Regions from separate parts of the Homo sapiens genome. Here all the other regions are linked to region 6. Evidence: promoter capture Hi-C in human tissues and cell types (Jung and others, 2019). All regions are on one chromosome and are shown on one strand. Each heading gives the region's core, a stretch centred on a gene start or on the middle of the fragment in contact. The rest is flanking DNA. Distances are from core to core; before and after follow the strand shown.

Region 1 (4,142 bases), core at 727-3,226, 350 kb before region 6:
ACAGTGAAACCCCGTCTCTACTAAAAATACAAAAAATTAGCCGGGTGCAGTGGTGGATGCCTGTAGTCCCAGCTACTCGGGAGGCTGAGGCAGGAGAATGGCGTGAACCCAGAAGGCGGAGCTTGCAGTGAGCCGAGATTGCACCACTGCACTCCAGCCTGGGTGACAGAGTGAGACTCTGCCTCATAAAAAAAACAAAAACAAAAACAAAACAAAAAACTCCCAAACACCTAATATATGTTTCATGTTCTTTTGAGAAAGCTTAATTAGGCTGGGCGTGGTGGCTCATGCCTATAATCCCAGCTACTCAGGAGGCTGAGGCAGGAGAATGGCTTGAACCCAGAAGGCGGAGCTTGCAGTGAGCCGAGATTGCACCACTGCACTCCAGCCTGGGTGACAGAGTGAGACTCTGCCTCAGAAAAAAAACAAAAACAAAAACAAAACAAAAAACTCCCAGACACCTAATATATGTTTCATGTTCTTTTGAGAAAGCTTAATTAGGCTGGGCGTGGTGGCTCATGCCTATAATCCCAGCACTTTGGGAGGCTGAGGCGGGCAGATCACCTGAGGTCAGGAGTTTGAAACCAGCCTGACTAACATGGTGAAACCCCACCTCTACTAAAAATACAAAAAAAAAAAAAATAATTAGCCAGGCGTGGTGGTGTGCGCCTGTAATCTCAGCTACTCAGGAGGCTGAGGCAAGAGAAACGCTTGAACCTGGGAGGCGGAGGTTGCAGAGAGCCGAGACCATGCCACTTCACTCCAGGCCTGGGCTACAGGGCAAGACTCCGTCCCAACCCCCGACACCCCCCTAACCCCCCAAAAAAGAAAAAGCTTAATTAGTGAGGCATGGTGGCTCATGCCTGTAATCCCAACACTCTGGGAGGTTGAGGCAGGAGGACTGCTTGAACACAGGAGTTCAAGACCAGCCTGGGCAACACGGTGAGAACCCTGTCTCTACAAAAAAATTTTTTAAACATTAGCCGGGTGTGGCAGTGCATGCCTGTAGTCTCAGCTACTCGAGAGGCTGAGGTGGGAGAACTGCCTGACCCCAGGAGGTTGAGGCTATAGTGAGCCATGATTGAGCCACTGCACTCCAGCTCGGGTGACAGGGCAAGGCCCTGTCTTGAAAATAAAATAGGTTGGGCACGGTGGCTCATGCCTGTAATCCCAGCACTTTGGGAGGCCAAGGCAGGTGGATCACGAGGTCAGGAGTTCGAGACCAGCCTGACCAACATGGTGAAACCCCGTCTCTACAAAAATACAAAAATACAAAAAAAAAAAAAAATTAGCGTGGTGTGGTGGTGTGCGCCTGTAATCCCAGCTATGTATTACAAATTTATATTATGTGGTTAGAACTTGACATGTAATACATGTAATACATAGTAGCTATATATTACAGGCGCTATGGCTCACGCCTGTAATCCCAGCACTTTGGGAGGCCGAGACGGGCGGATCACAAGGTCAGGAGATCGAGACCATCCTGGCTAACACGGTGAAACCCTGTCTCTACAAAAAATTAGCTGGGTGTGGTGGCGGGCACCTGTACTGCCAGCTACTCGGGAGGCTGAGGCAGGAGAATGGTGTGAACCCGGGAGGCAGAGTTTGCAGTGAGCTGAGATCATGCCACTGCACTCCAGCCTGGGTGACAGAGCGAGACTCCATCTTAAAAAAAAGAAATAAGGCCTATATCTATATTCTTTTCTTTCTCTTACATGGAAATAAACAGAGCAACTGTCATAACAGAAATAAGCATAACTGGTATTTACCTCTCTGCCTGTAAGGATATGTCTTGCCAATTTTACTTTTGCAAAATTCCCCTTGCCGATTGTTTTCAACAGTCTGTAGTTTCCGATGTGAGGTTGTTCATCTGCACAGGAGGCTATAGAGTTTCTACACCGAGCTCCTGAGCGGCTGGTACGAGAGGTAACTTCTTGACGCCCATCTCCATGTGACGTGTGCTGCAATACAGCATACACAAAGATAAGGAAATGAGAGAACACAGAGTACTTGCCAAGTTCTAAGAGCTTCTAATTGAAGAAAAAACATTCCTACTTTAATTTTAATCTTAAAGTATCTAGCACTTCAAAGGAATTTAACCACATAATATAAATTTGAGGAAAATAAAAATTCTGAGACGAAAAATACGAAGTGTTGAAGTTCAATTGAGTGTTCAGGAAGAAATTAGATATTTTGCATACGTGGCTGTCATATAAAATAGGAGTAAAAGGGCTACCTTCTGGTTATACAGTGCTTAACTTTTCCATATGTTAGTAAGTGCACCTGCACACCTGAGCCTCACTACAGCCCGTGCAGCAGGGGAAAAGCTAATGTCACCATTCACTAGATAAGGATACAGCCACATAACTGTTCAGGGGGAAATCCATAGAGAATCTGGATTCCCGATTTCCTTCTATACTACACTGCTAACAGTAATTCAAAACAATGTGCTTTACAGAAACAGCTAGACTGTGTGGCCCTTAATAGACGACCCTTGTTGTATAGATGAATAAAGTACTCAATATGCTTACTTAATAAAGTACTCAATATGTCTCTACCCTATGAAATATTCAGGCCCAAGAATTACACTTCTGTGTACACACTGTGTACATGGCTGTATGCGCAGGCATCCTGCTACTACTGCTCCCTTGGCCCCCACACACACTCAAAGGATTAGATGTCCCAATCCTTTCCCCATTGTGGCTGTTAACTCCTGCCCAAGGGAGGCTTCTCATTCCACATGCACTCACAGCCACTTTCCACCCCCTTTACACGTTTCTCTTTTCCAACTTTCTGTCCAGGAAAATGTCCTGTCTTTCTCTATATACCTATAAATCAAAACAAGCCTGATTTAACTAATAAACTGCTTTGTAATTTACTCAAATCAAAGGAAATGAAACTCAGGTGTTTTAAAGTGAAAGTAAGCTTTAAAACTTGCGCCATCTACCTCTGAATTTCTCAAAAGATGTCCTTTTCAGAATTTCCTCATTAGTCTCCATCTACTTCTTCATTATTTCTCTAATATTTTCACATTCACATACCAGGTTAGGGGATAGGCTCTTGTCTGTTTTACTCAGTTATCACATAATATGGCATCTCAACAACAATTTCTGTTTTTATTGCAAATGTCTATTTTAGATTAAACAGGCTTTTTATGACCTCACTGCAAATCTAGGCAACTTGTAAACATTGTTCCTCTAACAAAAATGATTCTGATTTCCATATTAGAACTTTGGGAAAATAGACCATTTATAAATATGGAGTTGATAAAAGACTAAAATGATAATAAAGCTTTGACACTAAGGCTTTAATACAAAAACAGGTAGATTTTGTTGTGCACAAGATGCATGCTGTTGTAATGCAAATTATTACATCAACTGCAGTCTAGTTTTAAAAGAAGCTGGGTGATCATGTTTATGTTTATTTCTACATGATTTTAATTACACTAGAATTTAAGTTTCATGAAAACAGTAACAGGAATTTATTATTCCTTATATCTTAGAACAGCAGTTGGTACAAAACTGCTACTCAATAAATATTAGAATGGCTGAATAAATGATATAAATGCTAACCACTATAGTGTTCAGAAGGTTAAAAATAAGGGAAATTTCTCTTTTTTATCTTCTGAATTTCTTCATTCATTCATTGAATATTTACTGAGTTACACACACACACACACACACACACACACACACACACACACACACACAACCAGGCACTATTTAAGGTGTGGTAAAAAGCAGCGCATAAAGCAGTCCATATCCCCATGAGGTATGTATCAAGTGGTTTTACTATCTGTGCAATGAAAACATATTCACTGAATTTATACTACTGGCCAAAATTTTTGTTAAAAAAGCTTTTTGCAATGTAAACATGTATTTTCAAATTTACATGTTTCATAAATTCAACCTTCATGTGTGAAAGCTGATCATACTAATTGGGTCATCCTATTCGTACTCAACTAAATCAGAGCTGAGGGGCAGGGATGGGGTGGGGGGCCAGGGGAGGGGGAGGGATGTAACATTGCTCCAAGATTATAATTCTCTGTAAGCCTGGCTGCTGAAACTGCCTATTGTAACCTGAAACCAGTTTATCTAATGGCTACTGAAACAACTTGTTGCTGACTCTAAGACCAGTATTAC
Region 2 (4,019 bases), core at 1-2,500, 460 kb after region 6:
AGGCAGGCGCCCTCTGGAAAACACACTTCTTTTATTGACTGGTTTTGGGGGGTCGTTCTTCTACTCGCCTTCTGGATGGGAGGGCAGTCAGGAGCCAGCAAGAGCCCAGAGGCTGAGAGGAGGAGCAAAGGCGTGGGGAGCAGCCTTTGGGAAGGGTTCCGAGAAAGGGGTCTCTGGGGACCTCCTAAGTCCGGGGCGCTCGCAGGACACTAACTCTCCGGCACTGCCACCCTTACCCCTGGCCGAGGCGCAGCTCACCTGGACGCAGGGACCCCCAGCGCCCCCAGGCCAGGTGTGGCCACCTCCGACGCCACCCGCAGTCCTCGGAGGCGCAAGGGGGCAGCGGCGCCGGCCCTGCTGGGGGCGACCTGGCCTCCCCCGGGTGCAGAGGCACGTTTGCAGAACACTCGTGTGCGTGTGCGCCTCCTCGTCCTCGCCCTGCTGTTCTCCCCACGGACGGCAGGGCGAACGCACAAAAAGAAAGTTGTCGGCGGGCTCCCGCCCCCTCGGGCTCGCCGGGGACCCGGGGCTCCCGCTCATCCCCGCCGCCGGCCGGCCGGGGCCGCTACTCACCGGGGTCGAAGTCGGGCACCACCGCCTGGTACTGGGGTCCGACCCTCATGCCACCGCCACCTGCGGGGGAAGCAGAATACGGCGGTCAGCGCGGCGCGGGGCGCGGGGCCCGGGGCCGCGGGGGCGGCTGCCACCTACCGTGCTCCTCGTCGCTGGACGAGCCCGAGCTGCCTTCCTCCCAGGAGTTGCTGCTGCTGTTGCCATTGGGCGCCGCCGCCGCCAAACTTTTATTCTGGCCATTATTGGGGGCGGCGGCGGCTGAGGCGGCGGCGGCCGAGGCTGAGGAGGCGGCGGCGCCCGAGGCGGCAGTGGCGGCTGGCGAGGCGCAGGCGGCCGAGGCGGCGGCGGAGGCGGCGGCGGCGGAGGCGGAGGCGGCCGCGTTGTTCCTCCCTCTCCGCTTCCCTGAGACCTCGGGGCCCTTCTCCACCATGGCCGGCATCGGCGGGGGCCGGGGCCGTGCGAAAGTGGCGGGGACCCGCGGCTCCTGAGGAGGGGGCGCCGAGACGGGGGAGGGGGCGCGGGGCCGGCGCGGGGCCGGGCGGGCGCGGCGGGAGCCCACGGGCGCGAGTCCGAGTCGGGGGAGGCCCAAACGGGCAGAGCGCGGAGCCGCTTCAAGCCCCCAGCGACGAGCCGAGCGCAACTTTCGCTCTCATCGCCGCCCTCACTTCACTGGCACCAACTACTCCGGGAGCAGCGAGCGGAGAGGGGAGGAGGCAGGGGCGGGGCCTGCAGGGGCGCCGGGGGAGGGGGGCGCGCAGCCCAACTGACGCGAGATGGCTCCGCCCCCCCTCGCGCTCCCATTGGCTCTGGTGGGATTTGGACAGCCAGCGGCAGCGGGGTTGGCTCCGCGCGCCCGTCCGTCCGGGGCGGCGGGGCGGGGGAGCGGGGAGGGGCGGCTCCGGGCTTCCGTTGGCGAGGTTCGGTTGACGCGTATCGCCCGCCGTACGTGGTTTGAGGTTTGCCATCTCCCTACGCCCCATGATCCATCTCTCCAGGCAGCGGCGAGGAGTTCGCGGCCCTCCCCGCCCCCTACCCTTGGCCGCGGCCCCTGCCCTTGCTGCCCGCGCACGCCTCCCGCAGCCTCTGGCCCCCCATCTGAAGGACCCCGCTGAGAGTCCCGTCGACTTCTCAAAGTAAAATGTGTCTGGCGCTGGGAAGCCGCGGAGCGCCCGGCCGGGACTACTTTCCGCTGCGCGGAGGAGTACGGGCGCGCTAAGACTCCATACAAAGAGGAAACTAATTGGGGGAAACTCGCTGCGCCCCCGCCTTTCCCAGGGGACGCGGGGCTGGCGGGGGCGGGGGCCGCGGCGCGGGGGACGGGCTTCCCAGGCGGCCGCCTCCCCTGGCGCGAGCTGCGTGGGGACTCGGGTCTGCGGTGCTGCCCGCTAATTGGGTGGGGGAGGCCGGGGCCCCCGGGGTGGCTTGGGTGCGGGGTGCGCCGCGGCTTCAGAGGCCCAAGGGAGGGTCCCCGTGGGTCCCCGGGGCACAGAGTCCCGGCGTGGGGACGCCCAAGCCGCCTGGGTGGCCGCTGAAAGATGAATGAAGGGGCCCAGTCGTCCTGGGGCGGGGGTCCAGGAAGGGTAAAGAGGAAGAAGCTATTTTCATCCCAAGCTCTCGGCACGGGAGGAGGGTCAACTTCTTTCGGGGCGAGGGCAGCCACTTTTCCGGACCTGCCGCCCGCCCCGCCTCCCTACTCCCCCCGGCACCCCCACGAGGGAGAACACGGGGTGCGGGCGGGTGGGGTAGGCTGAGGCTAGCCTGAGAGCCGCTGCCTTGGAGAGGGACCACCGGGCAGCCGTACAGCTGTTAGGAGGCTGAGGAGTGTAACTGCCTTGGAGGTCCCGGTGCCCTACCCCCAGCCAACCCTGAAACTACGCGCCCTTCGTAATTAGACCAGTGGAGGTCTATACGGAAAATCTTTTTAAAGCAGGGAAGGCTATTTTTCTTTTAAGTTACTTCAAACCTGAGCTTAATTTGGGGACTAGCTCTGGATATAAATAGCTACAGGGAGAATTTGGGAGTTTTATGGTTTTAAAGCCTGAGTAAATAAGCAGGGTTTTGTCTTGAACATTTTCTGCAGCATGAACCATTATTAACTTTATTGAAGAGACCACGTTCACTTCTGCCTAAATGGCCTTTAAGAAACAGGGCTGGGAGCCCTCCTGGTATAGAAGCCCTTCCCCCACCAAGTTCAGGTGGGGGACTTAGACTTTTAGACTCTCCTCAAAAGTACGTCCCTCTCCTTGGAGTGCCCTGGATGCTGCAGGTGTGTGCCCCAATACACCCTGTCAGCTGGCCTGGGCAGGGTACAGAACCGGGGTGGCATTCCCGGGGCTGGGCCACCGGCTAAGGCCTCTGACTCATCCGGAGGTGAGCCCTGTGTGAGGAATGAGGTCCAGAACACGCTGCCCCGCTCGCTTGGTGTCTACAAAGTTCTGCCACGAGACTAGAAGGATCAACCTACAAGGGCACAAAGGTGATACTGGGTCATTAAGGCAATAGGGATAGCAGAGCACACAAGGCCGCCCTCTCCACCCACCAGCCCCCAAGGCTGAGGCCAGGCTGGGCTACCAGTAGGGGCGCAGCAGTGGACTTGACAAGCATTCTTTTTTTTTTTTTTCCAACGAATATTAACACTTAATATGTGCCGGGCCCTGTTCTATTTTGTCTGACCCTAATGCTACACCGATACTGTATTGGCCTGAAGCTCTCAGATTTACCAACCGTAAAATACAGGAAACAGTACCTACCTCCTGGCCTGATGGACTGTAATAGAGTCCATCCTTCCAGCATAGGGAACCCCAACGTTAAGGACACTCGCCTTCCCATCGCTTGGGGAGAGGGCTCCACACACAGCCCTGGGATTGGGAATTTGTGATCCCACACTTCTAACGCATCCACAAAGCCGGCAGCCCTATCATGTTTTTCGGTGAGACTCCCACTCTGAAAGTGAGACCTCATGCCTGCTCCCCTCTCCTTACACCTCCCACAGCCCCTTCTGCCTGGGCTCCTAGCCCGTGGCCTTACCTCATTCTTCAGAGAAAAACGAAAGCCTTCAGGATCTTTCTCCTCTCCCAGTACCCAAACAGACAAACTTCCCTGTCGGGTACTCACGTCCTCCTCAGGCCTAGGACCCCATCCCGCTGCCCTCCCCTCGAGGCTTTTCTGTGCCATCAGCCTCACTCTGGACCGACTCCTGCCCCCAAACCCTCTCCTGCCTCTGGCCATTTCTCCCTCCCTTCAGACATTTCTGTAGACTTCCCTACACTCACCTCCTCCACCCCTTCCCGTCCCAGCCTCTCATCACCCCATCCAGCAGGGCTGTGTCCCCACCCCTTAACTGCTGCTAAGGTAACCTACAACCTCTCCGCTGCCCAATCCGGGGGTCACTTCTTGGTCTCGCTGAGCTTCTCAGCAGCAGCTGAGTCGACCACTCCTCCTCCTGG
Region 3 (4,129 bases), core at 305-2,804, 300 kb before region 6:
CTCAAGAAAAACCCAACAACAACAACAACAACAAAAAACCAGTTTATTTCTACTGCAAGCAGATTATAAATACTATCAATTCTGACAGTATAAAAGTAATAGTACAGACGACTTAAGTTGGGAGTTGGAAGGTGGAGGTTATAAAGCCAAGGTTAGAGAAACAAATATCTTCATCTTCCCTTGTTGGGAATCAAGAGAAGCCTCTATGGATAGAAGAACCAGTAATAAAATCGCAAATATTATGTTTAAGCTTATGGAAGGAACCAATAGAGGGATTGAAAATAATAATAATGGCCAGGCGTGGTGTGAGCCACACCTGAAATCCCAACACATTGGGAGGCTAAGGTAGGCGGATCACTTGAGGTCAGGAGTTGGAGACTAGCCTGGCCAACATGGTGAAACCCCATCTCTACTAAAAATACAACAACAACAACGAAAATTAGCTGGGAGCGGTTGTACATGCCTGTAATTCCAGCTACTAGGGAGGCTGATGCAGGAGAATCGCTTGAACCTGGGAGGCGGAGGTTGCAGTGAGCTGGGATCACACCACTGCACTCCAGCCTAGGCAACAGAGTGAGACTCGGTTTAAAAAAAAATGAAAATAATAATAGAAAATAGTAATAACCACATTGAGAGGAAGATGTGGGGGGATGGGGTGGTGAGTCACCTCTACAGGTGTCACCTGAGACCCCAAGGGATAATGTCTCAAAGTGACAGCAACTTATAGCTATGTACCCGTGTTATATAGTAGTTAGAGGTTAATCACCAGAAAAACCTCAAACAGAAAGTTCAGTTACTACAGGCCAATTCCAAAGCTTGTATTTTTTTTTTTTTTTTTTTTTTTTGGAGACAGACTCTGTCTCTGTCGCCCAGGCTGGAGTGCAGTGGCATGACCCCGGCTCACTGCAACCTCTGCCTCCCAGGTTCAAGCAATTCTCCTGCCCCCATCTTGGTTCACCACAGCCTCCCCATCCTTGCTCAGGTGATTCTCCCACATCAGCCTCCAGAGTCGCTGAGACTACAGGCATGCACAGACATGTCCTGCTAATTTTTGTATATTTTTTAGAGACGGTGTCTCACTATATTGCCCAGGCTGGCCTCGAACTCCTGAGCTCAAAAGATGGCACGCCTTGGCCTCCCAAAGTGCTGGAAGGTGGGAGCTGCCAGGTGTGAGCCACCGTGCCTGGCCTCTTGCTGTTTCATTATCCATTAGATGTGCAGTGTTATTATCTTGGTTCTGTCTGCTCCTGCCCTGTCTCTGAGTTGTTGCCTCACCACGTCACAGTCTTATGAGCTCTTTTTTTTTTTTTTCTTTTAGATGGAGTCTTGCTCCGTTGCCCAGGCTAGAGCACAGTGGCGCGATCTTGGCTCACCGCAACCTCCACCTCCCAGGTTCAAGCAATTCTCCTGTCTCAGCCTCCCGAGTAGCTGGGATTACAGGTGCCTGCCACCATGCCCGGCTAATTTTTGTATTTTTGTAGAGATGGGGTTTCACTGTGCTGGCCAGGCTGGTCTCGAACTCCTGACCTCAACTGATCCACCTGCCTCGGCCTCCCAAAATGCTGGGATTACAGGCGTGAGCCACTGTTATGAGCTCTTTTATGGGGAGATGGATCTGGGGACACCTGCTTTTCTGCCTTGGATTGAATTTCACCATATCTGTTTTTATACTTGTCCTTGTTTGTTTTTTCCTTTGCAGGTTGAATTAAAAAATCAGACTCCAACTGAGGATCACACATTGCATTTAGCAGAAATGTATCTTTAGTCTGCTTTAGTTGCCATAACAAAATACCATAGACTGATTGGCTTACACAATAGAGATTTATTTTCTTGTCCTTCTGGAGGCTGGAAAGTCCAAGATCGTGGTGTCAGCATGATCAGCTCCCAGTGAGGGCTCTCTTCCTGGCTTGCTGTCTTCTTCCTGTGACCCCCACAGGGGACAGAGAGAGAGAGAGAGAGAGAGAGAGAGAGAGAGAGAGAGGGAGAGAAGAGAAAGAAGAGAAGAGAGAGAAGAGAGAGAGACAGGAGAGAGAGAGAGAGAGAGAAGAGAAGAGAAGAGAGAGAAGAGAGAACACACTCAAGAATGCTTTCTGTGCTAAGTGTGGTGGCTCATACCTGTAATCCCTGCACTTTGGGAAGCTGAGGCAGGAGGATTGCTTGAATCCAGGAGTCAAGACCAGCCTGGGGAGCATAATGAGACCTTGTCTCTACAAAAAATAAATAAATTAACAAAATTAGCTGGGCATGGTGACACATGCCTGTAGTCCCAGCTACTTGGGAGGCTGAGGTGAGAGAATCACTTGAGCCCGGGAGGTCAAGGCTGCAGTGAGCTGAGATTGGGCCACTGTACTCTAGCCTGGGCAATGGAGGAAGATCGTGTCTCAAAAAAAAAAAAAAAAAGAAAAGAAAAGGAAAAGAAAAGAAAAACAGAAGTGCTTTCCGGTGTCTCTTATTATAAGAGTACTAATCCCCTCATGAAGGCCCCACCCTTTGACCTCATCTAACCCTATGACCTCCCAAAGGCTCTATCTCCAAATACCATCACACTGGGAGTTTGGTCTGCAATATAGAAATTTTGGGAGGATACTGTTTAGTCCATAGCAACCTTCTTTCTAGATTAAAGAAGACTTTTAAATTTTATTTTATTTATTTATTTATTTTTTGGTGCTTCATGACACTGACGTTTTTGCTTCCTTGTAGTGGCCCTGTGTATGCTTGCATATCTACCAAGCTGTTTACTTTCATTTTGCTCATGGTGTGTTTGGGCTGCTCTGGCTAGGCTATCTCTTCTGATGTTGGGCGGGAGATTTCTCTGACACTCACGTTGTTCTTGGGGGTATTTATCTTCCCCTATATACCAGCTTTGACGAGTTTTGGCTGCATGCATAAGAAAAAATATGCAAAACAAGGCAAATGTTTATTTCCCTCCTCTAAAAGAACCCTGAAGGGAATCAGCACAGTGTTGATATGACACTTTCAACAGCATCCGGGGCCAGCCTCTGACCTTTCTGCCCCATTCAGACCCACTTACTTCTCACTGCCAGGTGGTCCCGACCAGGCACGACTTCTCCGTGACTCTGGTTGGTCACACTTTTCTGGGGACATTTACAAGACGAGAGTTAGTGGGAAGAACCACAGTCTGGCTGCTGCCAATGCCCTGAGGCTGTACTTGATACTCATTATCTTCCTCCACCCTGAACCATCTAGACATTCTGCAAAACAGCATGTTGGCCACCATATAGAGGGCGTCACGTTAATCAGAGCAGATGCCGTGGTAAGACACATGCCATCCAGGGGACTGGAGATAAAGCCTACGGAGACTCAGGAGCCTCCACATGGACAGTTTAACCCATTCATCAGGTCACATGGAAGACTGCTGGTTTTGCGTTGGGCCAGGAGCAGAAAGAGCTCTCCAGCAGCCCAGGCTGCCACAAGAGCAGCTTCCTGCATGCACCCATGACTCAGCAGGTGCAATGGAACTAGAGGGGGCTGTGGTTGGGAAAGATGCTACTTCCCAGTACAGACCCCCTGGGTTCTGGAGAAAGTCTGTGCCTTACACAACAGAGAACTACAAACCATTCAAAAAGCAGCCCTGATGCGCTCCTGGACCCTGCTAGAAACTGTCTGATGGCTAGAACTTCCCAAGATGAGTTCATTCTGGCCGGACGCAGTGGCTCATGCCTGTAATCCCAGCACTTTGGGAGGCCGAGGCAGGTGAATCACTGAAGGTCAGTGGTCAGTGACCACTGAAGGTGGATCACTGAAGGATCACCAGCCTGGCCAAGATGGTGAAACTCCATCTCTACTAAACATGCAAGAATTAGCCAGGCGTGGTGGCAAGGTGCCTGTAATCCCAGCTACTTGGGAGGCTGAGACAGGAGAATCGCTTGAACCCAGGAGGAGGAGGTTGCAGTGAGCTGAGATCATGCCACTGCACTCTGGCCTGGGTGGCAGAGCAAGACTCCATCTCCAAAAAATAAATAAATAAATAAATAAATAAATAAATAAATAAATAAAAGAGCTGATTCTGCTGGACCCACCAAGTCTTCAGGTCAGGTGGACCCAACAGTAACCCACAGTGAGATGGAAGTGGTACATCTGCAGTACAGCATGGCAGGACCAGGGGGCG
Region 4 (4,017 bases), core at 228-2,727, 410 kb after region 6:
GCCGAGGCCAGCCTGGACAACGTGGCAAAACCCTGTCTCTACCAAAAATAGAAAAAATTAGCTGGGCACGGTAGCGAGTGCCTGTGGTCCCAGCTACTCAGGAGGCTGAGGTGGGAGGATCGATTGAGCCCAGGAGGCGGAGGCTCCAGTGAGGCAAGATTGCACCACTACACTCCAGCCTGGGTGAAAGTAAGACAAGTCTCAATTAAAAAATAATAATAGGCTGGGTGCAGTAGCTCACGCCTGTAATCCCAGCACTTTGGGAGGCCGAGGCAGGAAGATCATGAGGTCAAGAGATCGAGATCATCCTTGCCAACATGGTGAAACCCTGTCTCTACTAAAAATACAAAAATTGGCTGGCGCGCGCCTCTAGTTCCAGCTACTCGGGAGGCTGAGGCAGGAGAATCGCTTGAACCCAGGAGATAGAGGTTGCAGTGAGCCAAGATCACGTCACTGCACTCCAGCCTGGCGACAAAGCGAAACTCCATCTCAAAAAATAGTAATAATAAAACTAAAAAATAAAAATAAAAAGAGTAACACTATAAAATTCAACAGCTGGTATTTTCAAACAGTTTTTTATCCACACTCCCCTCAAATCTTCCCGATACACATTCCTCCCATTTTATTTGCACAGTTATACATGCTAAGTATTCATTATTTATCAACAGTAATATTTTTGTTAAGTGGAAGATAGAAAATGTTAAAGCAGGTGGTTGTTACGTATCTATGGGAAAAAGTCAGCTGGGAGGCTGATTCTAGGTGACAAAAATAGAATATGCTAAAAAGAAATGTAGTTTGGAGAATTTTCACCCAAATTAGAGTCTCAATGAAAGGACACAATAAAATACTGAAATACAGATGTGGGTGGATGGTGTAACATTTGAAGGGAACTGTTCAGAAGAACAAGCAGACAGGCAAGCTTAAAAGAAACAAATAATATAATCACCTAAAGAAAACAGGGCGTTTGAGGACACAGAATTAGGTAAAGGAACACTGCCAGAAGACTAGAGGAGAGAGTGTTTGTAATTCACTGCTCAGCCTTTCTTCCATTCACGTAACTGGGCAATGAAGACTTAAGGTGTTCACTGTTAAGTCATTCTTTAACGCAGCAAGCATTTATTTGGTGTAGCATAACAGTCCTGAAATGGAATCCCAGCTCTGCCTAGACTGAAGGAGAGTTCTCTAATCTCTTTAAGTTTCAATTTTCTCTTCTATAAAAATGGAGGAAACAGTTCCTTCTTCAAAGAGATTAAACAGCAAGTTAAAACAAGTAGCAAACGTCTGGTACATAGTAGGAACTTAAAATAATCAATCCAAACACCACAAATAGATTCAATCATAAGGACACTTTTAAGAAATCCAGTTACAAGGCTCATATCTAAAGCAGATTTAGCAAATTAAATAAACAAAAATAAAACATTCCTAGCAATTTCTACTTATTCTAAGCCAATTCAGCATAAAGATCCTCCAGTGTAAGTTCCCTTTTATTTATGAAGCCTACTGAGAATCAATTTGAGAGACCTTCAGCCACAAGAAATCAGGTCTACAGGGCTATCTAAATAATTAGGGGGCCAGGCATGACGGCTCATGCCTATAATCCCAGCACTTTGGGAGGTCAAGACAGGAGGACCCGTTGAGCCCAGAAGTTGCCAGCAGCAGTAGTGAGCTATGATGGTGCCACTGTACTCTAGCCTGGGAAACAAAGCAAGACCCTGTCTCTATAAATAAATAAATAACCCATTTATTTTGCAAGTGTGCTTATTCATATCAATTCACTTCTGGTCAACAAGCCAAAAAATAAGATACATAAATATAAAATAAATCAGTTCACTTCTTCTCTAGTCTCTCAAGCTATTTTCAAATTCTTTTTTCTTTTTCTTTTTTTTTTTTGAGATGGAGTCTCACTCTGTTGCCCAGGCTAGAGTGCAGTGGCGCAATCTCGGCTCACTGCAACCTCTGCCTTCCAGGTTCAAGCAATTCTCCTGCCTCAACCTCCTGAGCAGCTGGGATTACAGGCACCCGCCACCACGCCCAGCTAATTTTTGTATTTTTAGTAGAGACGGGGTTTCACTGTGTTGGTCAGGCTCATCTCAACCTCCTGACCTCATGATCCGCCTTCCTCGGCCTCCTAAAGTGCTGGGATTACAGGCGTGGGCCACCACGCCTGGCCTATTTTCAAATTCTACACCCTTTATTAATAGCAATACTCAGCTCTGAAGGCTGTGAGACCCCTGATTTCCCACTTCACACCTCTATATTTGTGTGTGTGTGTCTTTAATTCCTCTAGCGCCGCTGGGTTAGGGTCTCCCCGACCGAGCTGGTCTCAGCACCAAACATACTGTCAAATTCTTCTAACTAGTCAACAATGTACTGTGCAACAATGTTAGTTTTATTAGCTGCTAGTGAATTAGGAGTTAGTGTTTTAAATGAGAACATTCTCATTAAGATACCTGTATTCTATTATGAGTCTAAGTCTCATTGTCTAATACAGGAATTATTAGTAATAAGATAATTAAGTTATTCAATAAAGAGCAAACCAAATATTTAACATCTAAGAGTAAGTGCTCTAAATCAAGTCCCGTAAGTTTAAAATATCTCAAGTCAGTTCCTAACTCAGTTGGTAAAGAACACCCACAATACCAATGAGAAGGAAGAGACCAATAACTTCAATGTTTATCCCTTTATATATAACAATTGCAGAATAACCAATGTTTTGCAGACACAGGAATTTCACCAAGTATGTGGTACTGCTTCTCCATCAGTAAAATGAGAAGCATGAACTTACTCTCTAGAGTCCATTTAATAGGAAAATTAAGTGGCTTAATCCTGTCTACAACTTTCACGTCTGACTTCCCTTTCCCAACATCCAAGGGAATCCTGTTCTGTCTTTTAACTGAGTGGATGTGGCGAGGTTTGTAGAATGTGTGTGCTTTTTTCCTACTCTCTTCCTCTGATCCTTCAAGCTTTATTAACATACTTCAGAATAGACTAATCTCAGTCATTAAGCACTGCTGATCACTATGATTCCTCCATCCACCCACCCACCCACCCACCCATCCATCCATTTATTGAAGCAGGATCTTGCTCTGTGCTCTGTCCCTCAGGCTGAAGTGCAGTGGCACTCACTGCAGGCCTCTAATTCCTGACCTCAAGTGATTCTCCCACCTCAGCCTCCCAAAGTGCCAGGATTATGGGCACCAGCCACCATGCCCATGGCCACTATGATTCTTTTTTTTTTTTTTTTTGCGGTGGAGTCTCGCTCTGTCGCCCAGGCTGGAGTGCAGTGGTGCGATCTCGGCTCCCTGCAAGCTGCACCTCCCAGGTTCACACCATTCTCCTGCCTCAGCCTCCTGAGTAGCTGGGACTACAGGTGCCCGCCACCTCACCCGGCTAACTTTTTGTATTTTTAGTAGAGACGGGGTTTCACCATGTTAGCCAGGATGGTCTCATCTCCTGACCTCGTGATCCGCCCATCTCGGCCTCCCAAAGTGCTGGGATTACAGGTGTGAGCCACCGCGCCCGGCCCAAGGCCACTATGATTCTTTAAGCTCTCACCTTTCTTCACTGCCTTCATACACAACCAAGTTAGATAACCAATTCATTTTCTTGAGGATCATTCCTAATGCCAATTTCGTCAACCAGATTTTTTACAGTAAACAAAGCCCATTCTAGCTAATATAAGCAACTAAATGGCTCTACAGGAAGGTCATCAAACCAGATTTACAAGCCATGCAACTAGGACAACACCAGAATTACCCCACAGAACTGCTTCAGTGGAGGTCTTAACTGCTGCAGGTGTTAAACACAAGGACACTTGGCAGTGCATAGTGGACACCACCGCTAGAAAACGCTGCCTCTGAAACCTGGCAGCCATGCTTGTCTACTTCACATCACTTGCTTCCTAATCCTAGTCTTGCCCTGGTGCATGGAATAGAAGTCACACATCTATGACAAACTACAAGAGAGGATGGGAAAACATATTAATAGCTTCTACTGTGGAGTGGACAATTTCCCCTC
Region 5 (3,622 bases), core at 1,007-3,506, 320 kb before region 6:
GTGGGGATGTAAAATGGTGCAGCTTCTATGGAAAGCAGTATTATGCTTCTTGAAAAAAATTAGAAATAGAATTACCATAGGATCTAATAATCCCACATCCAGATAGATACCCAAAAGAATTGAAAACACAGTCTCAAGGAAATATCTGCACAGTCATGTTCATGGCAGCATTATTCACAATAGCTAAAATGTGAAAGCAAACCAAGTGTCCATCCATAGATGAATGGCTAAACAAAATGTGGTATGTCCATACAATGGAATATTATTCAACCTTAAAAAGAGGGGAAATTCTGACATTAGCTACAACACAGATGAAACTTGAGGACATTATGATGAGTGAAATAAGTCAAACACAAAAGGACAAATTCTGTATGATCCCTCTTCTATGAGTTACCTGGAGCAGTCAAATGTATTGAGACAGAAAGCAGAATGGTGGTGCCAGTGGGGAGGAGGAAATAGAGAGTTCTTGCTTAATAGGGAGAGTTTCCGTTTGGAAAGAAAAGAGACATGAGGACAGATTGCACAACAGTATGAATGTACTCAATGCCACTAAACTGTACACTTAAAAATGGTTAAGATGGTTAAGATGGTTTTATGTTATATGTTGTTACCACAATTTTATTTATTCATTTTTGAGATAGGGCCTCACTTTGTCACCCAGGCTGGAGTGCCGTGGCACAATCACAGCTCACTGCAGCCTCAAACTTCGGGGCTCAAGTGATCCTCCTGCCTTAGTTTCCAAAGTAGCTGGGTCCACAGGCATGTACCACCATGCCTAGCTAATTTTTTGTATTTTTTTTTTTTTTTTGTACAGATGAGGGTTTGCCATTTTGCCCAGGCTGGTCTCGAACTCCTGGCCTCATGCAATGCTCCCACCTTAGCCTCCCAAAGTGCTGGGATTACAGGCAGGAGCCACTATACTCAGCCTGCAATTTTAAAAACAAATAAAGAAATGAAGTCAAAGCTTCAGAAGCTTTGTCTGAAGCTGCACAACTAGTTAGCAACAGAGCCAGAATGGGGGTCCAAATCTCCCAAGCTCCAGCAGACGCCCCCCATATACACTATCACCAGAAAGTATCTGGGTCCCCGATGGCAGCTTCAAGCACCTGCACTAGCAGTGAGATTGCCATCCTCCTGATTTCTTCTGCAAAAAAATAAGCACCTGCTTGTTGCACCCACTACAGTTGGGTTGTGTGTTACTGCCTAGCTTGATCCTAACCAGTACCATCATGCTAAGTGTCACATCTGCTGATCCACAGGCCTGTGCTCTCTGCACCACATCTAGTTTGGACGAACATGGAAAGGCTGCTGCAGGCTTGTCACCCCATCACAGCCCTCACAAACACAACTCCTCTACCAGAGAGTGGGAACTACTGGGACCCGGGAGCCATTCCTCAGTGTGTGTGTGTGTGTGTGTGTGTGTGTGTGTGTGTGTGTGTGTGCGTGTTTGTACGCAGATATGTTGCAGACCAAGAGCTGAACACTGAGAATATGTAAAGCCACAGAGATGGAGAAAAGCAGAGTGTGATAATTATGAGACATTGCAGTCATCATGCTTGGTGAGGGGAAAGAGGAGGGGCCGGGCAGTAGGTGTTCCTGGGACATTCCAGGTAGGCCCCAGATGCTTTGAGTCTTTGGGAAATATGAGGTCCATTTGGACTCCATGCCAGGCTGCTCCCCCCACACCGGGGATGAGGGCAGACAAGCTGCTATTCTTTTAATTTACCCTCCAGTCCCCTTCTTCACTCCAGCGGGGTCCTGTTGCCCTCTGTGAGCCCTGCTTCAAGGCCCAGAAGGCACCCCAGGAATTCTCACTTCCAAGATTGTGTTCCTGCCATTCACTCACCTGGAAAGGCTCCCCTGCCTGCCCAAAGCCTCCCTGCTGTTATGCAGCCATCCTCTCATCCTGTCCTCATCCAGGGTCCTTGTCCTTGTCCTGGCTTCTTCCCTGAAGACTCTGCAGACCAGCCCCCAGGGTGGCCCGCCCCTCCTTGGCTTTTCCTGCCTGAGGTCACAGTACATTTATTGAGCTCCAGCTGTGTACCTGGCACAAGACACCTATGCTAGGACCCCCTAACTCTCCAACAGCCTGTGAGACGTCAATGGGCACGTGAGAGGCGACTGACTGAGACTCAGGAGGGGCTGTAACTCTTCCAACGTCAGGAGCAAGCAAAGGGAGAGCCAGGACTGGGCTCCAAGGCCGAAACTCTGCAATTGATCCTTTCATTCCTGGTCAGTGGAGAGCCCTCGAACCTCCTGTGCTTAGGTCAGTGTGGGTGGGGCCCAGCTGAAAACTCAGTAGAGCTGCATCAGTGATTCTCCACCTTCTGGCTTCCAGTACCCCAGCCTTTCCAGATAGCTCTGGATGGAACGCCTCTCGGGAAGAACATGGGCGCCCCCGCCTTCCTAAACACACTATTCTGAAAAATCGTGTCAGCTTTTCCCACAGCTCAAAGGTGTCCTTTTACCACGTCCCATGCTTCACCGCAGTGTAGAGATGGCCCTGGGGGATGCAGGAGAGAAAGAGCCATTTGCCCCTGCAGTAATTCTCCAGCTCTCGGATCTGCTGAAGATGATTGATCCCCATCTAGTTCTAGATCGGTCAGTCCCCATCTAGATCGGTCAGCCGCCTCTCACGCACACATACACAGTTGTCATTACCAGATTCTGGTAGCGTAGCCCTCTGGAGCCTGCCCTGTCCCATGACCCACTCTGCTCTGAGCTGGGAAAACCCACTGTCTGGAACTATATCTAAAGGTCTAGGGAGACCACAGTGGTGAGGCAGAGGCAAGGGCTTTGGAGTTTGAACTCTGACTATGACGCTGAATGCTGGGGGACCTTGGGCAAGTGACTTCATGTCCCTCAGGCAAGGTTTCTGAACCAGTCAAATGGGAATGGTAACAGCTACCACTCACAGTTGCTCTGGAGGTCCGTGGAGAAAATTCCCAGAGAGCACCAGCGCAGCAGGTGCAGAGTCCACCCTTCCAAAGCTCAGAGGACTCACCACCTCCTGGAGGGCTGCCCTTTCCACCTGTTCCCCAGAGAGGAGCACAGAGCTCAGAGTCTGTAGAACACAGATCAAGGCTTATTAGGCCACACAGCGTGGGGAGTTAGAGACTCACTCCTCCTCCCCGGTTTCCTCCTCCAGTTTTGCCTACCTCACTGAGTACTGAGCTCACGATAGGAGACGTAGAAGCCCTTGGTAAGGGATCCTGCAACACCAGATAAGGCGTTAGTGTTTTTATCATTGCCTGTGCTTTGCAGGCAAGGACTTGGAGATTCAGAAGGGCAAGAAGCCTTCTCAAGCTCACGGACAGAAAGCAGTGCCCTTAGACTCCAGTCTGCTGCTGGCTCTGACACCCACTGGCTGCAAGGCAGGTGGGTAAAAAAGGATAGAGAGAAAGAATAAGGGGGTGAATAGACTACCCCAGCACTCCTGGAGCCTCAGACCTGCCCATTATTGCAGGGTTGACCTATTAAAGTAAGCACATCTCCCAAATACAAACAGGTTTTTCCAAGACAATAAAGTCTAAGCTCTGCTTGAGGAAAGACCATTTCCTCCATTCCTTAGGCTGCTGCCCTACCCTTGGAGCCAGTTGGGCCTCACTGGGTGGAGTCATGA
Region 6 (4,181 bases), core at 1,142-3,641:
CTGTTCACTAATGTTGGGGCGAGGAGTGTGCCAGTGTTTCCTGAGGACAGATGTGAGCTGGGTGGATGAGCAAGCACAAGACCCATGGATCCATTTAGGTCCTGTCCAAAAGTCCCTCAGGAAGGGCAGAGGGCCCCTCCCCTCCACAGCCACCAGGTAAGCATCCACCCAGTGGCACATCTGCTTGAGTTAAGGGGACTTCAGGAGACAAAGCAGCAGGGAACCACCGAGGAGCCCATGAATGTTCCCAGGAGAGACAGGGTCAGCTTTACCCTCTGCCAATCCAGATGGGATTGGAGCCCTTCCCCACTTCTCCCTTTCTCCCTTCCCGGTGGTGGTTCTAGATGGGTGGAAGTGGGCTGAGCGAGCCGAGGGAGGTTTGGGGAAGGAGATGGCACCAGGCACAGCCCCCTTTCCCCTTGCTCATCTCAGGCCCTAAGGGGTCCAAGGGGGAAGATTTAACTTTGATTTTGAGCCAGGTGATCTGCTCAGACTTTTTAAAAAAAACTTTTAAGGTGTCATACACAAATAGTAACATGCAAATATTTAGAATACAGTTTGATGAATTTATACACATTTACAGACCCAACGTTACAAAACGGCTGTGCTGAAGATACAGAATGTTCCCAGCCCCCTAGAGGCCTCTCCTTGTGCCTCCTTCCAGTTGATACCCCAAAGGCAACCAGTACTCTCACCTCTAACGCCAGATTGTTCTCACCTGCCTTTAAGAAATGAAGGTATTATATATACATACACACAGTGACATGCACTCATCTTAAGAAGACAGTTTGAAGAATGTTTACTTATGCGTGCTCCCATGTAACTACTACCCAAATCCAGGCATAGAACATTACCAGCAGCCCAGAAGGTTCCTCCTCTTGTTCCAGTCAACAACTCCGGCATAGGCAGCCACTCCTCTTCTTCTTCTTCTTCTTCTTATTATTATTACTATTATTAAGACGGAGTCGTGCTCTGTTGCCCATGCTGGAGTGCAGTGGAGCGATCTTGGCTCACTGCACTTTCGCCTCCCGGGTTCAAGTAATTCTCCTGCCTTAGCCTCTCGAGTAGCTGGGACTACAGGCGCGCGCCACCACGCCCGGCTAGTTTTTTGTATTTTAGTAGAGACGGGGTTTCACCGTGTTGCCCAGGCTGGTCTCGAAGTCCTGAGCTCAGGCAATCCGCCCACCTCGGCCTCCTAAAGTGCTGGGATTACAGGTGTGAGCCACCGCGCCAGGCCCACTCCTATTTTTAGCTCCAGAGATTAGTTTTGCTTCAGGCTCCCTTAACGTCCTGCTTCAAACCCCTATCTGCCCCTTCATCGGCTCCACCTGGAGGCCACCGCTTCCACGGAAGCATGACCCCTTCCCCTGCACCCGCGCGCCCCAGAAGCTCTCAGATACCCCCACGATTTCGGTGACCTTCCGCAAGCTCCAGGAAAAGCCCCTCCTCTCCTGACGCCAAGGGTTTGTTGGGGTTGGGGGGTATCTCCATCAGCCTCCCTCCCCCAGCCACCCAAATTAACCAACAATCTTAGTAAATGCAGCGACTCGCTAGGCAAACCCAGCCTGGAGACAAATATCCGGCCCCTTTCCTACCAAACTGTCACACCTAGGCATTGGTCTGCAGGGAGGGCTGGACAGTGGAAACTGAAACCCTCTGCAAGCCATCACGAATCCACCGGGCACTGGGGACGCTGGCTCCCGCCTTGGCAGCATCCCCCAGAAGCCTGGGCCCTGACCCCACACCGTCTGGGCCTCAGTCTCTCATCGGTAAAGTCAGGGGTAGGGCCCGAGTCTTCCAGGACCGCTTCGAGCTGGGACAAGCCGTTTTAAATAGCCCACAACCCGCCGAGGCCATCAGAGCTGCGCCTGCCGGGCCGCCCTCGACCCCCACCTCGGCCGGGCAGGTCCGAGGCCCCGCAGGCAACATGGGCCCGCGGACTGCGGGACGGGGCTCGACGGCCTGAGATCGCGACTCTGCCTCTCCGATACTTGGGGTCGTCTTCGGCCCCGGGATCCGCGACGCGCGCGGTCGGACCCCGAATACTGAAGGCACCGGGTCCGCAGGGCGAAGGCGCACACGCCCACCAGGCGCGCTCTGCGCATGCGCGGGCTCCGCAATCTCAGCGGCCCACTCGCCCCGCCCCGCCCCCCCCACCCCCACCCCGCGCCGCTCCCCAGGCCCGGCCCTGCCTTCCCAGCATCCCGGCTCCCTACGGCAAGCGGCGAGGCCCGAGCCCGCCGGGAGCAGGGAGCCGGGCGCGGGGCGGGGCGGCGCGCTGAGGTCAGCGCGGCGGCGGCCGGCCCCGTAGTGGTTGGCTGCGCTGGTGCTGGCCGCGCCCTGGTTGGCTGCGGGCCGCGGGGCTGGGCCGCCGGGTCGGGGCTGGGGTCGGGCTCGGGCGCCGGCCGGGCTTGCGCAGCGCTAGGCTCCTCGCCGCTCCTAGTCTGCGGCGGCGGCGGCGGGGAGGGCGCGGCCGCGGGCGGGGCTGAGGGCGGCGGGGGCGGGCCGCCCGAGCTGGGAGGGCGGCGGCGCCGAGGGGAGGAGAGCGGCCCATGGACCCGCGGGGCCCGGCGCCCCAGACTCTGCGCCGTCGGGACGGAGCCCAAGATGTCGGCCTAGGCCGGGGCGCGACGACGCGGACGGGGCGGCGAGGAGGCGCCGCTGCTGCCGGGGCTCGCAGCCGCCGAGCCCCCGAGGGCGCGCCCTGACGGACTGGCCGAGCCGGCGGTGAGAGGCCGGCGCGTCGGGAGCGGGCCGCGCGGCACCATGTCGGCCAAGGTGCGGCTCAAGAAGCTGGAGCAGCTGCTCCTGGACGGGCCCTGGCGCAACGAGAGCGCCCTGAGCGTGGAAACGCTGCTCGACGTGCTCGTCTGCCTGTACACCGAGTGCAGCCACTCGGCCCTGCGCCGCGACAAGTACGTGGCCGAGTTCCTCGAGTGGGGTAAGTGCGCGCCGGCAGGGCCGGACCTGCGGCTCTGCGACCCCCGCGCCCCAGCCCGCGCATCCCCACGCCCGCCCATCCCCGCCCGGACAGACCCTGCCGCCCTCCTGCCCACCCAGCTCGTGGGCTTCGCCTCCTCTCGCTCTGGCAGCGCCCCCAGGCCCGCAGCCCATCTCTCTCCAGCCGCTCCTTGCACCCTCGTCCCTCCGCTAGCTTTTCATCCCTCCTTGCCCTCCCTAGGCTCGACATCCGCGTTCGATCGTCCCGCCCCCTCATCCTGCCCCTTGGAGCCACATCCTACGTTCCCACTCCCACCCCCTCCCCCCCGCCGGGCCCTCGCCCTGGCGGCTTCCTAGATCCACCCTCCGAGTCTGGATATCATTTCCTGCAGCACTCACTGGGATATCCGCCCCCGCCCCCGCCCCCGCCCCCGCACCTCGCCTTTGGGGTCCGGAGGCAGTGTGGAATTAGTTCCCTTTCCCCACCCCACGCTTCTCTGCGTTGTGGGGGCAGCTGGGTGTGCTTTCTGCATCTGCCTCGCCCACTGCCCCGTGGGACCCCCTTGCATCCCCAGGGAGCCCAGCTCTAACGGCCCCTCCTGGGTGACAGCCTGTCTACATCCCCTTGTTGGTCAGAGCCTGAATACCTACTTTGCTGTAACACCTTCAAGGGAATTTTAAGGTTAAGGCTTTATTTTAAATAAACCGTGCAAGAGGACTTTTTTTTTTTAATTCCAATTCTGCTAGACCTTTGTGATATTTGGAGGGGTAGCTGGAGCTATCACTTAGAAACTTTCTCATCTGAATTTTGCATGCCTTCTCTAGTTCGTTCCGGATCTATAATGTTTTAATCATTGGTCAGCTAACCTATTATGCTTTTTTAGGACAAAAATTTGATTAAACCATTTAACGATAATTAGGATCCTAAAGACAGGTAAAAGTGCAGCGTGAAACTCTTTTACTTCATCTCTCCCTAACGGGTGTGCCGGTCAAGACCCTCAGACTGTCTCACCTAAAACCACTGAGTAGGAGGAGGAAATGCGTATGTTCAGGCCAAACCTATGAAAACCTTATCCTTGGGTCATTTGCGTCACTGGGCTAGGACTGTTCAGTTCGAACCAGTAATTTCTAATCTTTGGGGCTGATAAAGCTGATATTTATACGAAGAAACAAATGAAAGTGTTCCACAGTGAGGCCTCCAGGCCTCCTACTCTACTCTGCCAGATTGGTGACTGGAATTT
Region 7 (4,185 bases), core at 624-3,123, 300 kb after region 6:
CTGAGGGCGATAGCAGGAAGAGAGGCCCGGCTCCTGACGAGTCCACACTCACCAGGCCACCTGCTAGACACGGGATGGCAAGGGGTGGCCCGAGCTACACTAAATGGACTGTCTGGGCAGAGATGTCTTCTTCCAGGCCCTCCAGACTTCTACAAAGTAGCCTTCTCCTCCTACCAGAACCTCAGGTTGCCCAGACGCTGGAGGGCACAGGGACATCTGAGGGTCCCACCACGACAGGCTAGAAGTGGCTCTTTTATGAAAACCTTTGTCAGAACAAGCGAGGGGACATGGGTGACAGCCTCACAGGCCACCCAACAGCCACCCCTCCTTCCTTGCTGACAAAGCCCAATTTTGTCCTGTGGTCTAGGCATTGCCCTGTGTGCCTCAGGCATAGGCTCTGATTGGCTAAGCCAATGATTCTCCTAGACAATGATTGGCTTAGCCTGGGGCATGTGACCCAATCCTAGCCAATGAGATGTGAGGGGTGGCTATTGAGGAATGCTGGGAAAGGCTTCTTGGCTGATAAGAAGACAGAGGCAAGGCCGGGTGCTGTGGTTCACGCCCGTAATCCCAGCACTTTGGGAGGCCGAGGCGGGCGGATCACGAGGTCAGGAGATCGAGACCATCCTGGCTAACACGGTGAAACCCCGTCTCTACTAAAAATACAAAAAATTATCTGGACGTGGTGGTGTGTGCCTGTAGTCCCAGCTACTCGGGAGGCTGAGGCAGGAGAATGGCGTGAACCCAGGAGGCAGAGCTTGCAGTGAGCCGAGATCGCGCCACTGCACTCCAGCCTGGTAGACAGAGCAAGACTCCATCTAAAAAAAAAAAAAAGAAAGAAAAGACAGAGGCAAAGATGCCTTCCCTGCTGCTGCTGATGGTTGGGTCAAAAGAAGACACACAGAATCCTATCTACTGAGCTTGGCAGAGATAAAGGGTGAGAAAATGGCCTTCAAGATGCCACCAAGAGCCAGCCAGATGTGGTGGCTCACGCCTGTAATCCCAGCACTTTGGGAGGCTGGGGCGGGTGGATCACTTGAGTTCAGGAGTTCGAGACCAGCCTGGCCAACATGGCAGAACTCCGTCTCTACTAAAAATACAAAAATTAGCCGGGCATGGTGTCTCACCCTTGTAATCCCACCTACTCAGGAGGCTGAGATGGGAGAATTGCTTGAACCCGGGAGGTGGAGGTTGCAGTGAGCTCAGATTGCACCACTGCATTCCAGCCTGGGCAACAGAGAAAGACTCTGCCGGAAGAAAGAAAGGAAGGAAGAAGAAAGAAGAAATAAGGAAGGAGGGAGGGAGGGAGGAAAGGAAGAAAGGAAGGAAGGAGGGAGGGAGGGAGGGAGGGAGGCAGGGAGGCAGATGCCACCAAGGGGCCAAACTGGTGAGCCTAGAGCCAAGAGTCCTTCCTTGGAAAAGGCCACTACTTTCCTTATCACGCAAGCCATTTGTGTCAGGTTTCATACTTGCAGCTGAAATGGTCTTAGCCGACACAGTGGGCGAGATGCAGGGAACCCGGGCCCCAGTGCCTAGCGGGGTTCTGCTGAGGTGGGGTGTTTAAGCAGCATAGGGATACAGGTAGGCATACTTTCCAAGTAGGAGTCTAACTAAGCCTTTTGGTTGTTTACTCCTGGGAACCCAGTCTATTTTAGTGCCTTGGACTCTTCTCAAAGGTGCCCCAAGAACCCTCGAGAGTCCTGAGTTAGTGTCACATCCTTCTCTCCGGAGGGTCCCTCGGGGAGGAATTTCCAGAGGGAGGACATACAGAGGCATTTGCTCCAGCCATGGGGAGCCCAGGGTCCGGTCTTGCAGTTTGGGAGTCCCCTTCGGGAGGCTGTGGTCTCGTAGCCTCTGGCCTGTCCTGGGAGTCAGGAGGCCAGGGGCTGGCTCCACCTCTGCCTCAGTTTCCCTGTAATCAATGAAGAGGAGCAAAGGATTGCTGTGTCCCCCCATCTCAGATGTGCTCTGATTCCGTGATGATGGTGGACAGAAGGAACACAGAACCCCTGCTCCCTCTTTTGGAGAAGAACTCATTCATTTATTCCATAACGTCCATCAAGTTGCTAAGGCTCTGAAAGGAGGCAATGCTTCCGCCGCCTCTTAAGATCACCCAGGGCCCTCCATGCTCGGGAGGAGAGGAGGGGTCTTCAGGCAGCAGACCCAAGATGGGCTGTGGCAGAGAGATACCAGGGTGCCATGTGCTCAGGACACAGAGGGCCAGTAGGGAGGTCAGGGGCAGGTCTGAATCCTATCTGGAGGGGTCCAGGCAAAGGCTGCTGAGATGTGTGATGGGATCCTTGGATCCTCTTCAGGAAGGAAACTCCTGGTAGTGTGGACCAAGGCAGGCGCAGGCAGAGTGGGTGGCCACTGTGGCCACCAGTCAGACCGGAGGACAGTGATGTCAAGGGTCTGAGTAGAGGCCAGGACTCCAACTGGCAAGTGGGTCATAGGGGTTGGTCTGAGGTGGGCTCAGGATCTGTCATTGACAGGATTTGATGATCAGCTGGCTGTTGGGGGTTGCTGAGGCTGCAAGCGGTCTGGCTGGCCCAGACACCCAGGGCAGGGGGCCTAAGGAGAGTGGGTCTGGGAGAAAGGCCTGTGAGGAGCTGGGTCGTGTGCAGCTTGGGGCTTCTGTAGCACATCCTGGGAAGACCCCAGAGAGATGCAGGGCTGCCGGGGGAGCTCAAGGGTGGGGGCCTTTCGGGTGAGGGCAGGGAACCTGAACAGGGATTAAAAATCCACCGTGAGCCCCTCACGGGGCATTCCTTTCCAGCAGGATGCAGTGTCCTGGCCAGGGCCTGGTGGGTCGTCAGGGCCCTGAGCTTCCCTCAGTTTCCATGAGCCTGAGCGCCCTGGAGGAGGGAAGAGTGAATCAGGGGAATGGAAATCAAGCCCCGTGGCATGCACAGCCAGCGACCATGCATCATTTAATTTGGGGTTGCAAAAATAACTCAGCCTCTCCCCTGAGGTGCTGGAATTCCCCAGTCTTCGAGTGGGGTTAACTTTAGTAAGAGTGAAATTCAGCCAGGTTGGCGGAGGACAGTTTCCAAGTCTCCTCAGGCCGGCTCTCGCAGTCTGGTGACTGTGTCCAGCCTGCCTCCGTTCTCCTCATTGTCAATGGCCATTGTTGGAATTGCTCCTTCCCGTGACTTCACCTGGGAAGTGGCCTCACCCTTGAACTCAGGACCCCAGACAAGGAAATGAAGCCTCTAACACAGCACAGCCACCACCTTCTGCTCACTCACGCTCCAAGTTCACAGTCCTCCAGGCCCGGCTGCTGCTCTGCACCTCCAGCAGAGATGTATAAAGATTTCATGGCCTAGGAGTGTAATGAGCCCCAGATTATTAAGATCCCATTTCTCTTTGAAAATATCTCATGAAGTATTCTCTTAAATAATTAAAACTAAATTCCACCTATCCAAATAAATGAAAAAGGGTGTTTGGCTCCGTTGTGTCCTTGAGTGACTCTTCGGGGCCACCAGATCCTTTCCATGCTCCCCGCCACCAGATGGATTTCCAAGTGCTGGGCTTTCCAAATGCATTTTCTTCCTCTCTTAGGCCAGTGTTGTTCACAGTGACACGGACCAGTTTACGACCTTCCTGGTGTGTCACCATCCTGCTGATACGCAGGTCAAAAAAAAATCACACAGACATCAGACGCTGACACCAATAGGCCCATCCCAAAATAAGGATTTATATATATTCCAAGAATGCAACTTCATCTATACTTAGGATGGGGAACTTGGCCCCGCTGGACGACAGTGAGCTCATCACCTCCAAAAGCCGGAGTTTGGAGCAGGACTCAGCCAGCATGTCTGGGGAGTATCCTGCCAAGGTCCTCCAAGTGGGTCCCTTTGTGGCCATTGCTGTCTTGCGGTGAGAGTGGAGATGTCTTGTGGGGTGAGGTTGTTGTGATGGACAACAGAGAGAAGAGAAGAAAGTCTGGGCTGGCGGAATCAATTCAGTGTTCTCTTTCCTGCACATTCTGAGGCATAGATAGATATTATGTCTTCCATTCACCCTGGTGGGGTTGGTTCCAAACATCTCTTAACAAGAGTCTTATTCGAGTGCTGGGTACAGTGGCTCACACCCATAATCCCAGCACTTCTGGAGGCTGAAGCGAGTGAACACTTGAGTCCAGGAGTTCAAGACCAGCCTGGGTAACATGGCAAAACCCCGTCT

Evidence for each region. Contacts are between HindIII fragments. The study calls those that stand out against the background at their distance.
Region 1: a fragment that was not itself captured here is called in contact with the fragment with the promoter of CDC42BPB in region 6 in 1 of the 25 tissues and cell types used here (dorsolateral prefrontal cortex).
Region 2: a contact is called between the fragment with the promoter of RCOR1 here and the fragment with the promoter of CDC42BPB in region 6, in 1 of the 25 tissues and cell types used here (dorsolateral prefrontal cortex).
Region 3: a contact is called between a fragment that was not itself captured here and the fragment with the promoter of CDC42BPB in region 6, in 1 of the 25 tissues and cell types used here (thymus).
Region 4: a contact is called between a fragment that was not itself captured here and the fragment with the promoter of CDC42BPB in region 6, in 2 of the 25 tissues and cell types used here (lymphoblastoid cells and spleen).
Region 5: a contact is called between a fragment that was not itself captured here and the fragment with the promoter of CDC42BPB in region 6, in 2 of the 25 tissues and cell types used here (dorsolateral prefrontal cortex and liver).
Region 7: a contact is called between a fragment that was not itself captured here and the fragment with the promoter of CDC42BPB in region 6, in 1 of the 25 tissues and cell types used here (spleen).

What each region holds. Positions count from the first base shown.
Region 1 is chr14:103,402,895-103,407,036 of GRCh38, reverse strand. MARK3 (microtubule affinity regulating kinase 3) reads right to left here. Exons shown (of 18, transcript NM_001128918.3): 2 at 1,770-1,961. Among named protein-coding and RNA genes, the nearest start is that of MARK3, 20 kb to the right of the region's middle. RefSeq lists a silencer at 4,027-4,126. The HindIII fragment of the contact is 3,197 bases long and covers 378-3,574 here.
Region 2 is chr14:102,589,880-102,593,898 of GRCh38, reverse strand. It overlaps RCOR1 (REST corepressor 1), which reads right to left and starts at 1,250. Exons shown (of 12, transcript NM_015156.4): 1 at 712-1,250; 2 at 574-633. The coding sequence starts at 1,012. RefSeq lists silencers at 274-883, 944-2,253 and enhancers at 1,832-2,647, 2,929-2,978. The HindIII fragment of the contact is 11,930 bases long and covers 1-4,019 here.
Region 3 is chr14:103,354,993-103,359,121 of GRCh38, reverse strand. No RefSeq gene overlaps it. Among named protein-coding and RNA genes, the nearest start is that of SNORA28, 19 kb to the right of the region's middle. The HindIII fragment of the contact is 3,148 bases long and covers 1-3,128 here.
Region 4 is chr14:102,649,426-102,653,442 of GRCh38, reverse strand. All of the region lies in intron 2 of RCOR1 (REST corepressor 1), which reads right to left. Among named protein-coding and RNA genes, the nearest start is that of RCOR1, 59 kb to the right of the region's middle. RefSeq lists an enhancer at 1-175. The HindIII fragment of the contact is 4,634 bases long and covers 1-3,794 here.
Region 5 is chr14:103,377,804-103,381,425 of GRCh38, reverse strand. No RefSeq gene overlaps it. Among named protein-coding and RNA genes, the nearest start is that of MARK3, 5.8 kb to the left of the region's middle. The HindIII fragment of the contact is 6,371 bases long and covers 1-3,622 here.
Region 6 is chr14:103,055,759-103,059,939 of GRCh38, reverse strand. CDC42BPB (CDC42 binding protein kinase beta) reads left to right here and starts at 2,391. Exons shown (of 37, transcript NM_006035.4): 1 at 2,391-2,941. The coding sequence starts at 2,767. RefSeq lists an enhancer at 1,254-1,904 and silencers at 1,900-2,009, 2,050-2,549, 2,640-2,719. The HindIII fragment of the contact is 24,533 bases long and covers 1-4,181 here.
Region 7 is chr14:102,753,632-102,757,816 of GRCh38, reverse strand. It overlaps LOC124903390 (a long non-coding RNA gene), which reads right to left. Exons shown (of 2, transcript XR_007064356.1): 2 at 1-4,185. Among named protein-coding and RNA genes, the nearest start is that of TRAF3, 22 kb to the left of the region's middle. RefSeq lists enhancers at 1-21, 2,914-3,083, 3,154-3,353. The HindIII fragment of the contact is 8,282 bases long and covers 1-4,185 here.